2 separate regions of the Homo sapiens genome follow, and region 1 is linked to region 2. The links are contacts of gene promoters, found by promoter capture Hi-C in blood cells and fetal thymus (Javierre and others, 2016). All regions are on one chromosome and are shown on one strand. Each heading gives the region's core, a stretch centred on a gene start or on the middle of the fragment in contact. The rest is flanking DNA. Distances are from core to core; before and after follow the strand shown.

What was found. The method cuts DNA at HindIII sites, captures the fragments that hold promoters and counts their contacts. A CHiCAGO score of 5 or more calls a contact.
Region 1: a fragment that was not itself captured here is called in contact with the fragment with the promoter of PLEKHG7 in region 2 in 1 of 17 cell types (non-activated CD4 T cells); the score reaches 5.3 in non-activated CD4 T cells.

The regions. Positions count from the first base shown.
Region 1 is chr12:91,549,975-91,556,545 of GRCh38, reverse strand. The region is part of intron 1 of LOC105369896 (a long non-coding RNA gene); the gene reads left to right. Among named protein-coding and RNA genes, the nearest start is that of LINC02823, 230 kb to the right of the region's middle. The HindIII fragment of the contact is 3,830 bases long and covers 3,400-6,571 here.
Region 2 is chr12:92,698,889-92,706,311 of GRCh38, reverse strand. PLEKHG7 (pleckstrin homology and RhoGEF domain containing G7) reads right to left here and starts at 3,323. Exons shown (of 17, transcript NM_001377329.1): 1 at 3,180-3,323. RefSeq lists an enhancer at 3,123-3,182. The HindIII fragment of the contact is 11,169 bases long and covers 2,980-7,423 here.

The DNA.
Region 1 (6,571 bases), core at 4,065-6,564, 1.2 Mb after region 2:
GTGTTGATCTTGCTGGGAGCTGCAGACGGGAGTTGTTCCTATTTGGCCATCTTGCCAGCCACCCCACCCAGATCTTTTTTCTTTAACAAAACATCCACTTTATAACAGTTCTGAGCTATATTCTCCATAAATGAATTTTTAATGTATTTTATAGTGGAAAGTTGGCTAATAAAAGACAAGCTCAAAGATACAGCATTAAACCCTCATGGTCTCAATTCTTACTGAACAGCATCATTTTTATTGTTGTTTCCAAAATGAGATCATCTTTCTCTCTTGCTTTTACGTTAACTAGATTTGCTCAAAGATCTGACGTTAATGTCATCAGCCTGGGCTATTGCATGAGTTCCCCTAACTGAGTTTTAAAATATAGGCAATGGCATGCCGTAGAGGAAGATTTGATCTCATCATGCTGTAAATCACTTGTTTTCCCGAGAAGACTGGAAATGTGACAGGCAGCTGTGCTTTATCAATGTTTTCATTTATACATGTATCTTTCCCACTTCAAAGTTTGCTGAAGAGAAGTGAGATAATGTGATTAGGTGGCCACGCATATTCAGTGTTCTAAAAACTGGGTCATTGTTGAGATTAATTGAAGAATTAAAAAGGTTTAAAGAGGAGGTAAATTTTTGATTTGCATACTTCTCTAAAGAGTCTTGACTCTCGTCAAGCCCCCTCCCACCTTTTGCAGAGCAGCAAGCCAGAGCTTTATATCTAGCAATTTAGTAGTTGCAAATTACTCTTGCCAATGTGGTGATTTTTTTTTCTTTTGACCTAGAGGAAATTATGAGTATTTCCACACTAGATTTATTTTCCATAATCTATCAACTGCATTGCTTTGAGGACACTGAAAATGAGACAGGAGAGTGCGAATGTGACAGATGAGGACTGAAATAATTAAATAGTGCTCAGCATAAGGCTACTATACATCTCTTTGACCAGGCACCTTTTGAAAATCCCTTAAATGCCAATTAAATAAAGACTGCTTAGTGGTGAACATTGCTCAATGCCATTCTTTCTTTTGGCAATTTTGACCTTGTCAGTGGCATTTTCTAAAAGATAAATTAATGGCTTTCTACTAGAAGGGTGATCATAATTTATTCTATTTTGTTCTTCAGTTCATTGGATAGCACTATATTCTATGAACAGTATAAATTATATGAACATATATATGTGAGGATTTGAGAAACAATTCTTTTTAAAAATGTAAAATATAAAAAAAGAAATATTCTTCCACAAACTTATTCACTCATTTATTTATTTATTCATTCATTCAATAAACCAGCTTATATGTAGAGAGGAAAGAGACATATAAATAAATGATTATAATAAAATGAGTCCATATTGCAGTAGATGTGTTTTCATGGTACATATTGGGAACCACAAAGAAAGAATACCTAACCCAAGGGAAAGATATTGGGAAAACCTTCCTGGCAGAGATGATGTCAGCAGCTATTTCTGGTAAATGAATTAAAGTCAATCAGGTGGAGGATAAGATGAAGGATAGCCTGGGTGAAATGAAGTGAGATGAGATGAGTGAAGGACATCTCAAGAAGGAAAAGCATGTGTGAAATCAGTGAGGTAGGGCTAGAGAAAGACCTTTAGGTGGAAACTCAAAATGAAACACTATTTTTTGAAATGACACAAGATATTGTAGATGCTGAAATTAAAATACTTTTATTTTCCTAGATTTTCTATTGGCAACATTCTAGATATATTCATCTAAACTAATCTTTATCATTTGGGGAAGTGAGATGAGATAGATGTGTGTTTCCTTTTATTCCCAGATGCCTACATTTGGCATTCAGTTTACCTAGGGAACTACGGCAGCAATATGCACAAGGGTAGAAGGCAGCTATCATGGTGTGGATTGGATGTAAAGTGAGGCTAAAGAGTTTGGCAGGTTCATGAATCTGCCCTGGTTGATATGCCAAGAAGTTTTACCTTTATTGATGACAGTAGGAAGTCAAGGAAAATTTAAAAATTTTAAACAGAAAAGGGACATGATACACTGCTATAAAGTCCTGGCATACTACTTATTTAATTAAAAAAATTGTGTATTTATTTATTGGGAACAGAGTCTCACTCTGTCACCTAGCTGGAATGCAGTGGCATGATCACAGCTCACTGTAACCTCAAGCTACAGGACTCAAGTCATTTTCCTGCTTCAGTCTCCCAAGTAGCTGGGACTACAGGTGCCACCACATCCAGCATGGTCCAGTTTTCTCTTGAAGAGAAAACAGGGTCTCACTATGTTGTTCAGGCTGGTCTTCAACTCCTAGGCTCAAGCAATCCTCCCACCTTGGCTTCCCAAAGTGCTGGGATTGAGTAAGCCACCACACTCAGCCTAATTCTTATTAAATTCTAAGTCATGGGTATGAGAGCTATGGTTAGGTGAAGGCAGAATAGATCCTCTAAGTTATTATTTTCATGATCCTATATCTTACTCTAGACAAACATTTTACTTCTATTATTTTGTTTATAATGATTTTTCCTTCTCTAATGAAGTATACTTTCCATTAATACCAAGGATATTAAAGGCAGTTCCCTATGGATGGCCAATAAAAGTGGATAAATCAAGCAATATTAGAGTTTATAATGTGACTGGTACTGTGCTTTCTTCTGGTTAATGTCAGTGAATATATCATGAAATAACTGTTACTAAAAACTCAATGCAAACATTACATAAGATAAAACTAAAACCTGAACCCATGGGGTTTATTTTACTAAATAGTTGCTTGCTTTTAGTGAAGAGCAATTTCATATTTTATTTTTAAGCCTACTGAAGACATTGTAAGTTTGATATGTGTTCAAAAGGTATTAAGTTTGTACTTAAAATTTTTCATTTTGAAATGACTATAGCAACCTGAAAACACACAAATTATGCATATTGTTACCAGTGGCGAATCCATACCAGTCTTCAGTAAATTCCATTCTTGCCTATTCGGAGGAAAGAATTCGGCTGAGGGGCATAAGGAAGAGTGAGAGACCAAGGCAAATTTTACAGCAGGAGTAAAAGCTTATTAAGTTTTAGAGCAGGAACGAAAGGAAGTAAAGTAAACTTGGAAGAGGGCCAAGTGGGTGACTTGAGAGATCCAAGTGTTCCGTCCCACTTTGACTTGGGTTTTATCTATTGACATGGTTCCAGGGTTTCCATTTCTCCTTCCTTGATTTTTCTCTTGGGGTGAGCTGCCTGCATGTGCAGTGGTCTGCCAGCACTTAGGAGGGGCCACATGCACAGTGTGTTTACTGAAGTTGTGTGCATGTTTATTTGAGGCATTTTTCCCTTACCAGTCCAGTGTTCCTAGAGGAAGGTCATATGCCAGTTAAACTTTGCCATTTTGCCACTTAATGCAATATTTGAGCCCACTCGCCCAACTCCTGAGATCTTTTCAGAAAGCTTCTGATCACCAGCCTGAGGTGTTTTCTATTTATTGGGAGACTGCCTTTCCCTGACACTTGCTACCACCAGTTATTATTTTAGAGAGACAGTTTAACAACCACCTGACTATCACTTGATGGTAGCCTGATAATCCTGGAGGAGAGGAACCCCTCTTGCCCTGCTCATGTCTGCTTAGCTACCTCCTCTAACAATATTACTTATTTGACTTCTAACAAGAGTTTTCAGGAATATCCATTAGTACAACTATCATTTCATTTAAAAAAATCACATGATTGATTAATCTAATTATTAGTTTTTTATATAAACAAGTTGTGGCTGAGGGTGGAGAATAAAACATCTTGGCAACATTGCCAATGTTGAAACATCAGTACTTAATTGCAAAGCCAGATGAAGTCAACTACATGGCCCTACTAAATCTATGAACTTTACCTTTTACAATTAGAAACTACATATAGAATCTCTCTCTCTCTATATATATGTGTGTGTGTATATATATATATAATACTTACAGTACATATTTTTTAAATTACAAAAATCATACCTTCTATTACAGTAGGTAGCTAGTCAGGCATGAGCAGGGACAGAAGAGTGTCTGCCACCACCAGAAATGTCAGACGACCATCAGGTGATGGTCAGGCAATTGTTACACTGTCTTTCTGAAATAATAACTGTTCACAGCCAGCACCAGGGATAGTCAGTCTCCCTATAGATAAAAAAAAAACCTGAAACTGGTGATCGGCAACTTCCCAATAAGATCTTAGGAGTTGAGCAAGTGGTCTCACACATGCGCACTAAGAGGCAAAATGGTGGAGTTTAACTGCTAAATGACCTCCCAGGGACACTCAGCTGGTAAGGGAAGAACACCTCAGGGGAGCATGCGTACAATGCCAGTAAACACTGCGCATGCTCCCCTCACAAGGCCTAGCCCGCTACTGTTCATGCAGCCCAGCCCAAGAAAGAAGCCAGGAAGAGGGAACACAAGATCCCAGAAGTACGCCAACATATAAAACCCCAAGTCAAAAAGTCAAACCGCGCACTTGTCTTTCAAGTCGACCACTTGGCCCTCTTCCAAGTGTGCTTTGCTTCCTTTTGTTCCTGCTCTAAAGTTTTTTTAATAAAGTTTCACTTCTCTAATCCTTCCCTTGGTCTCTCCTTCTGCCTTACGCCCCTCAGTCAAATTATTTCTTCTAAGGAGACACAAATTGAGGTTGTTGCAGACTTGTATGGATTCACCACCACTAACATATTTTGGTGCCGTGTGACTCAAATAACTCCCATCGCTAACACTTCCAGTTGTAAGAAGTCAAACAGTAGAATAGTAAATGAAGTAAATGGTGTAGGATAAAAAGTGAAATTCTCATCTTCTTTTCTCTCCTTTCCAAATTCCACCCAGAGTTGACTACAGTTACGTGGTTAGTGTGATTATTGCTGGTTTTTTATATTCTACTATTGCAAATAAGTGGAGTTGCAATTTTTTAAGCAAATAAGATCATGCCATGCATTATTTTCTGTATCTTACTTTTACTCCTCAACACATTCTTGAAAAACTTCCCATGTCAATAACAATAGGTAGACCTTTTCTCTTAAATGACTGCAAATTATTTGTTTATTATTGTAAAGTATGTAATTGTACAGGCACAAGATAACTTTAAAAATATTTGTTCTTTTGATAAATTATTACCTTGTATCTCTTCATAAGTTTCAAACAGTGATGCAATAATCCTCCTTTAATATCTAGTTGAAAATACCGTTAAGTCAAAAATGCATTTAATATCCCTAATCTACTGAACATCACCCAGCCTACTTTAAACATGCTCAGAACACTTATCTTAGCCTACAGTTGGGCAAAATCATCTAGCACAAAGACTATTTTAAAATAAAGTGCTGAATATCTCATGTAATTTACTTTACTTTTTTTTTTATATTTTATTTTAAGTTCAGGGGTACATGTACAGGGTCATTACCTAGGTAAACTTATGTCATGGGGGTTTGTTGTACAGATTATTTCATCACCCAGGTCTTAAGCCTAGCAGTACCCATCAGTTATTTTTCCTAATCCTTTCCCTCCTCCCAACCTCCACCCTCTGATAGCCCTTAGTGTGTGTTGTTCCCCTCTGTGTGTCCGTGTATTCTTATCACTTAGCTCCCACTTATAAGTGAGAACATGTGGTATTTGGTACTCTGTTTCTGTGTTAGCTGCTAAGGATAATGGCCTCCAGCTCCATCCATGTCCCTGCAAAAGACATGATGTCATTCTTTTGTATGGTGGCACAGTATTCCATGGTGTATATGCACCACATATTCTTTATCCAGTCTATCATTGATGGACATTTAGGTTGATTCCATGTCTTTACTATCGTGAATAATGTTGCAGTGAACATACATGTACATTTGACTTTATAATAGAACAATTGACATACCTTTGGGTATATACCCAGTAATGAGATTGCTGGCTCGAATGGTATTTTTGTCTTTAGGTCTTTGAGGAATCATCACACTGTCTTCCACAAAGGTTAAATTAATTTACACTCCCAACAACAGTATATAAGCATTTCTTTTTCTCCACAACCTCACCAGCATCTGTTATTTTCTTACTTTTTAATAATAGCCATTCTGACTGGTGTGAGATGGTATCTCACTATGGTTTTGATTTTCATTTTTCTAATGATCAATGATGAGCTTTTTTTCATATGATTGTTGGCCGTCTTCTTTTGGGAAGTGTCTGATCATGTCCTTTGCCCACATTTTTATGGGGTTGTTTTTTCTTATAAATTTGTTTAGGTTTCTTATAAATGCTAGATAGTAGACCTTTGTAGGATGCCTAGTTTGCAAGTATTTTCTCCTATTCTGTAGGCCGTCTGTTTACTCTGTTGATAGTTTGTTTCACTGTGTGGAAGCTCTTTAGTTTAATTAGATTTAGATATGTTAGATTTTAGATTTGTAAAAATTTGCCAATTTTTGCTTTTCTTGCAATTGTATTTGGTGTCTTAATAGCGAAATATTTGCCCTGTGGCTGTGTTCTGAATAGTACTGTCTAGATTGTTCTCCAGGGTTTTTATAGGTTTGGGTTTTACATTTGAATCTTTACTCTGCTTGAGTTAATTTTTGTATGTGATGTAAGGAAGGGGTCCAGTTTTAGTCTCCTGCATATGGCTAGCCAGTTATCCCAGT
Region 2 (7,423 bases), core at 2,074-4,573:
GTGACTCCAGCCTTCTCATCTAAATAGCGTATTGAAGTCTGTTTACTGTCTACTTAATATTCCTTCTAGGTTCAAACAAAAAAGCCTTTAAAAACTTTGGTAACTTAAGGTACTTCCTGGAAACCACATAGCTCCTCCCCTTGTGATTATTCCATTTTAAGAGAATCAAATATACATTAAATCCTCCTTATCATCTACATTTATGTATGTATGTACATATTGTGGTGCATTCTGGGGATGCAAGAACAAGGAAAACAAGCCTCCTTCCCTCAAGGTTTAAATTACAGAATGAGACAGGCTTTGAAGGTAACTGATGTAAAGTATCTGACAACGTCTTTTATCTTAGATTCTATCAATCTTTACATTTTGGAAAAAGGACTTGCAGGTTTGAAAAGAAAAACCCAGACATCACCAGGTACCCTACTGTTCATGATTGGAGGTGTTTTTTGCAATCTATGCATGCAGAATTATCTCTTCTCATGCTCAAGAAAAGCTGACCCTTCCATTTCACAGCTTGATTCATGGGAGTGGCTTATTGCAGTTTCGTTATTCTGTACTTTCCCACATGAAGAAGGTATGTGTGGGAAAACATCAATCCTTACACATCCCTTATGGCATGAGAGTTGATGCTTGATGATTTGCAGACCAGGTGTGGGACTGTGGGACAGGCGAGAGACCCATCTTCCCTGGCCGCAGATGGCATGGGAGGTGGCTTCAGACTGTGCGTGGATTGTTTGTGGATGGAACATTAGTAGTTGACCGTATATTCCAAGATCATCAATAATAGTTTTAGTAAGTTTATCATTCTAAAGCAGAACTCAGCAATCTGAAACCCTTTGCCCACATTTGGATAGCCAAAATTTAAGAATGGCTAATAATTTACTTCTTATAATTTTAATTGCATGGGCAATACTTTTTAGTAGAACTTTTCTAGGGTGTATTATTTGCTTCTTTAACTTGATATAGAGAAGGCTGAAAACCAATAAACCTTTTCCTTATAACCTGACCTCATTCTGTTGACTATCATTCTAGTACTTTGCCAAAATACAGTGATTACTACTATGTTTACTATAGTTCTGTGGAGAATACAATAATTGTTACAGGCTTCTATAGCATCTGAATATTCACTCCCACACCAAATGGCCCCACACCAATGTACTCCCTAATTTTTATTCCTTACTTCTCACTATGCTTTTTGTACTTGCCTATGGCAACCACTCTCTCCTCTTTGTTTCTTTTAATCTGTGTCAGTCATAGAAGTCCAACAACCTTGTGAATAGATAATTAATAGGTTGTTAGATCTATTCCTATCAGTAGAGGAGGAGCTCAATGTTATGACATTGTCATGACAATGTTGTGACTTGACATTGATTTTGGGGACTTTGTGGTCTCTTATTTTACTCCCTGACTCTTACCTTGTTTAAGGTCAAGTAAGTCCAGGCACAGAGGCTCATGCCTGTAATCCGAGCACTTTGGGAGGCAAAGGCGGGAGGATCCCTTGAGCCTAGAAGTTCAAGACCAGCCTGGGCAACATAGTGAGACCCCATCTCTATAAAAACCTTTTTAAAATGCCAAATGAAACTAACAGGTACTGGATTTCAGACTGGTGAGTTGTTTGAGGAACAACTTAGATGCAAACTAACGTCAATTCAACTCTTATTCACAAAAGAAATCTAAAATTCTTAATGTTGTGTTTGCTTTATTTTGAGCTGAGGACTCAATTGTTATAGAACTTCACATGTAGAACTAAAACCCATGAGGTACCCTTTTTTGCAGAGTGGAGGAAAGAGGGCAATGCCAGTTTAGGAAACTTATGTTCAGTTAAGGTGAGATTGTACTAGTTTTGGTTTTAGATTGGTAATTCCTGGAGGCTGCTCTGAAGGTTGATACCAACATTGCTGGAGAGGTATGAAATGGTCCCTCCCTACCATTGATAAAATAAGGTACATTGTTGCTACATGGAGAGGCCAGTTCCTCATTCTCCCAACAAACAAATGCTGAGCTGAGCATCAAATCTATAGGTACTTTCTTTCTTTTTTTTTTTCTTTTTAGAGATGGAGTCTGGCTCTGTCGCCCAGGCTGAGTGCAGAGGTGTGATCATATCGCACTGTAACCTCAAACTCCTAGCCTCACAGAATCCTCATGCTGCAGTGCTCCTGAGTAGTTGGGGCTATGGATGCTTACCACCCCACCCAGCTAATTTTGAATCAATAGGTACTTTCACACATACATACAATCAGGGCCGTTCTATTATTTTTCTCCTTTAGAAGACTGTCCAAGTTCTAGGCAGCAACAATGTTAAAGGAATTCAGTATATTTGCATAGGCACTTGCATAATAGTTAGATCAGATTTCTTAGTCTTTGGGTTTCCCCTCTGTCCTTCTGGCCTTTTCCTCTCCTCTTTTGAGGGGTTAGGATACGGCTTTGGGTTTCCTTTGTAGTCGTTCAGACACAGGGGTGTAGCTGCTGGTAGGAAGTTATTTATGGCCAATAGGATTCACATCGGTAAGAATTATTTATTAGCCACTGTCTTAAATATTGGAACCAAGGCAATAGTAACTGCCGACATGATGCACTGCGGAAATGGAGAAACTTTAAAAACAGCAGGGCTTAGGGAGGTGGTTTGCAGAAAGGCAGGAAGAGCTCAAGCACCAGAAGAAATGGGTCTGGTTTCTCTTCCAGTATCACCGCCAATTGGCTGTGTGACCTAGGACAAGCCACTTCTCCTCTGCCAACTGCCATGCAGCATTTACCAAGAGGACATCAAAGAACCTCCCTCACAGGCCTGTTGCAGAAATTAAATGAGATAATGGCTAAGGCTCCTGGGAAGCTTTCCCTAAATGACTACACCCAGTGGATCTGGTAGAATCAAAAGTTAACAAGTCAATCCATTCATGCTAACTCTTCTTTATGTTTAAAAGAGGAAATTAATACATGGTCACCATAAAGAAAATTCACCAACCTTTGACCTTCCAAGCTTTGAGAATCCAGCAAACACCCACCCACACTGTTGGGGAAGCCATCTCACTGTACTAGAAATGAAACCATTGCAGGTTAATGATTCACTAATTCTAATGAGACCTGGAGAGATCAGCAAAACAAGCGAAACTGATAGCAATAGGACAAAAGGAAAGTGCAAGAGAGAAACCCAGAAAGCAGCTGAATGTTGCCTTTAATACCTGTAAGATGGTCTGTCCCTGAAGGCAACTGCACCCAGGTGGGTCCCGAGGCTCCTCAGAACCCGCAGATCCAGAGTGAGCTGCCAGGCGAGGGCTCGGAGCAACAAGTTCCACACCTGTAACAATGCGTCCTCCTGGCTGAGTGAAAGCAACCTTGCTACCAGCTGCAATGAGGAACTGGTCTCTCCCCTCCTTAGAGACATTTCCAGTTATTTGTTTATGAAAAAGCCTAAAGGGAAGCCAGCTCAGAATCTAAGGCAGCCTAAGAACAAGTCAGGTAAACAACGGCTGATCAAATACAGAAATGATGCAAATGTAACTTTTTACTTCCTCTTGAGGCATTCAACAAATCATCACTCATAGTTCAGTGAAGCAGTTCTAGGTTTCTATTTCATTTATTTTCTCTAAGGTTGTGAGATGCATTCTTTGGGACTCTACTTTCTTCACATCATAAAACATTTTGTGTTGATCTATTTTATTAATGACTTGCTTTGATAAGCATTGAATAGTAGAGGAAATGATTAGAGCACCAGGGAGTGAATTTGTGAACATTAGTTTTCAAATAATTAAAATGCAAATGGAAGAGCATTTATATCTACCAGTATTCTCATTAGATCAGTACCCCAAAGAATATTTATTTGATGCCTAGGTGGAGATAATGCATATGTATGCAGCATTAAACAAAAATGTCTATAGACTTTCCCAAAACAAAGTTGAAGTAATTCTAATGAAGTCTAATTCACTGAAGTTTTCATTGATTGGACTCATTACAGATACTTACTGTGAAGGTTCCCTGAGGTCGGTAGTTCTTAAAGTAGGGTCCCTGGACCAGCAGTATCACTATGACTTGAGAACTTGTTAGAAAGGAAAAATCTTCCCCCTCCATGCTCTCCAACCCCTGGAACTCTGGGATGGGGTCAGAAGTCCGTGGTTTTTTTTTGAGACAGGGTCTCACTCTGTCACTCAGGCTGGAGTGCAGTGGCACGATCTCAGCTCACTGCAACCTCCACCTCCTGGGTTCAAGCGATTCTCCTACCTCAGCTTCCTGTGTAGCTGAGATTACAGGTGCACACCACCAGGGCCCGGCTAACTTTTGTATTTTTAGTACAGACGGGGTTTCACCATATTGGCCAGGCTGTCCGAACTCCTGACCTCAGGTGGTCCACCCACTTCGGCCTCCCAAAGTGCTGGGATTACAGGTGTGAGCCACTGTGCCCAGCCAGAAGTCTGTGTTTAACAAGACTTCCAGGTGATTCTTACATGGGTTAAAATTTGAGAACCACTGCCCTTAGAGGAAAAGAAAAAAAGGTCTAACTTATAGATGTTGGCCTTGTGATAAACTTTATATTAGTCTTTAATTCTCTCATATTGATCTTACTAGAACATCATTTACTTAGAACTTTGAAAAATGACTTGATCTCCTGCCCTCACCACCATTGCCAACATTACCATGACTCAACCAAAAGCAGGATATCAAAAAATATTTTGCCTGCATGGAGCCTGCATAAACAGTTCTGAGCTCCTGCCAAGGATGTCTAGAAGTGAATTGCTTCAATTTGGGAAGGAAAAAAATGAATAAAGTCTTTTAGCTTTTAGTTTGTGGAAGGAAGGTCATACTCTTTTCTACCAATCCCCTCACGCACATGGGATTGTAAAGCTGTCTCTCCTAGGGGATAATGATAATGGAATACTTGATCCCAATGCAAAAACTTCCAACCTCTGGTTGTAACTTCAAGAAGGAAATTAAGAGTCTTATAGAAAGGTCACAAAAGATTATCACGGAAAAAAATGTGCCACCTCCATCTGATTTGTCAAGGAGATGGCAACAGGGAGGCATTTTGGGTGGGGAAGGGACACCCCAGAGTCAGCTTTTCCTTTAAGAACCTGGGGCAACCTCACTGTGGCCCTTTCTCAGATGACACATGGAGGTGCTCTCCAATATCGCAGAGGGAGCAGCTCGCCTCAGCATTTTTTGCCTGTGTGTAGTTTTACGTTTATGTATGCTTTGCTTCAATAAAAAGTATACCTTAAAAAGTATGTCTATGCTAAAAGATGACATCCTGGTTTGCTTACTTTATGGCTTTGAATTGGCAAATTCCTAAAAGATATTTTCTTTCTAGTTGTTGAAAAGAGGTATGAGATTTATTTGAGCTTCCTTTTAGGTTTTAGGGCTACAAAAATTCAGTTGTACCATATTTACAATGATTAATATAGCTGGGCACAGTGGCTGATGCCTGTAATCCCAGCACTTTGGAAGGCCAAGGTGGGCAGACTGATTGAGCCCAGGAGTTTGGGACCAGCCTGGGCAACATGCTGAAACCCCGTCTCCACAAAAAATACAAAAATTAGTTGGGTGTGGTGTTGGGCACCTGTAGTCCCAGCTACTTGGGAGGCTGAAGTGGGAGGAATGCTTGGGCTGAGGTTGCAGTGAGCCGTGATCATGCCACTGTACTGCAGTCTGGGTGACAGAGAAAGATCCTGTCTCTCAAAAACAAACCAAAACAAAAAAAGGTGACTATCAGATTAATATCAATGCATCTTGATATCTTTCAATATTTCTGAGGTATTTATTTAGGAAAAGTTTCTAGGTAGTACATATTCTGAGCTGTTTCATACCCCAAAATGACTTTATTTTGCTATCACATGTGCAGGGCATGGAATTCTTGCAACATGGTATTTTCCTTTAAAGGTCTGTAGACATTTTTGCATGATTTCAGTCATTAATAGTTGAAATAGGAGGTCAATAGAATATTTACTCTTTGCTGGGTACCATACTCTTAAATTTTTTTTTACTTCTTTGTGAGATTGTGTATGTTCTATTGAAGTGTGAAATATATATATACACACACAATACAATAGAACATTATATATATATAATTTTATTGGGATTAGGTCTTGCTATATCAAGCTGATCTCAAACTCCTGGGCTCAAGTGGTCCTCTTGCCTTAGCCTCCCCAGTAGCTGGGACTACAGGGAATGCTGCTAATTTTTTATTTTGAATTTTTTTAAAAGATAGGGTTGGCCGGGCATGGTGGCTCACGCCTGTAATCCCAGCACTTTGGGAGGCAGAGGCGGGCAGATCACGAGGTCAGGAGATCGAGACCATCCTGGCTAACACGGTGAAACCCCGTCTCTACTAAAAATACAAAAAATTAGCCGGGCGAGGTGGCGGGTGCCTGTAGTCCTGGCTACTCGGGAGGCTGAGGCAGGAGAATGGCCTGAACCCCAGGGGATGGAGCCTGCAGTGAGCTGAGATCACGCCACTGCACTCCAGCCTGGGCGACCGAGTGAGACTCTATCTCAAAAAAAAAAAAAAAAAAAGAGATACGTTCTTGGTATGTTGTCCAGGCTTAAGTTTTTTCTTTTATATTTGAAGGTAGAGAGGTTTACCTAGCATATGTCATGGTGGGTTCTGTTTACCAAATATCTGGTGTGTACTCTCTGTTATTTAAAATATTTTTTCTAAATAAGAAATATTTTCTGTGCTATTTGACATTTATCTCTCTTCCACTGATTCTTTTCCTTCAGTCCCCATTCTTCTTTGTCTTCACTTCACTCTTCACTTTCCTCATTCTCTTTCTTCACTCTTCAGAGTGAAGTTATCGCTTCACTCTGATATTTTATCTTTTCTCTACATTATTGCTATTGCTTTTACCTTAGGGATAATTTCTTGATACTGTTTTCTATTTGGCTATTTTGCTTGTTCCATTTTCTGCATAGTCCAAATTGCCTTTAACTGTTTCCATAATGACTTTAACATCAATTTTCCTTTCAAGATAAATAGGAGTATTTCAGCTCAATTCTTTTTTAGATGGACTTTTGCTCTTGTTGCCCAGGCTGGAGTGCAGTGGTGCCATCTTGGCTCACTGCAACCTCCACCTCCTGGGTTCAAGTGATTCTCCTGCCTCGGCCTCCCAAATAGCTGGGATTACAGGCATGTGCCACCATACCCGGCTGATTTTGTATTTTTAGTAGAGACGGGATTTCACCATGTTGGTCAGGCTGGTCTTGAATTCCTGACCTCAGGTAATCCATCCATCTCAGCCTCCCAAAGTGCTGGGATTACAGGTGTGAGCCACCGCTCCTGGCTTTGCAATTCTTTTTTATTACAAAATGTTTTCATGGTGGCAGACTGTAGGTTCTTGATTCATGTCAAAAATATGGATTATTTAGTGTGTCATGAACTGAGGGTTATGATTAACTCAACTATATGTGGTCTAAAAATTAAAGTCAAAGAATCATG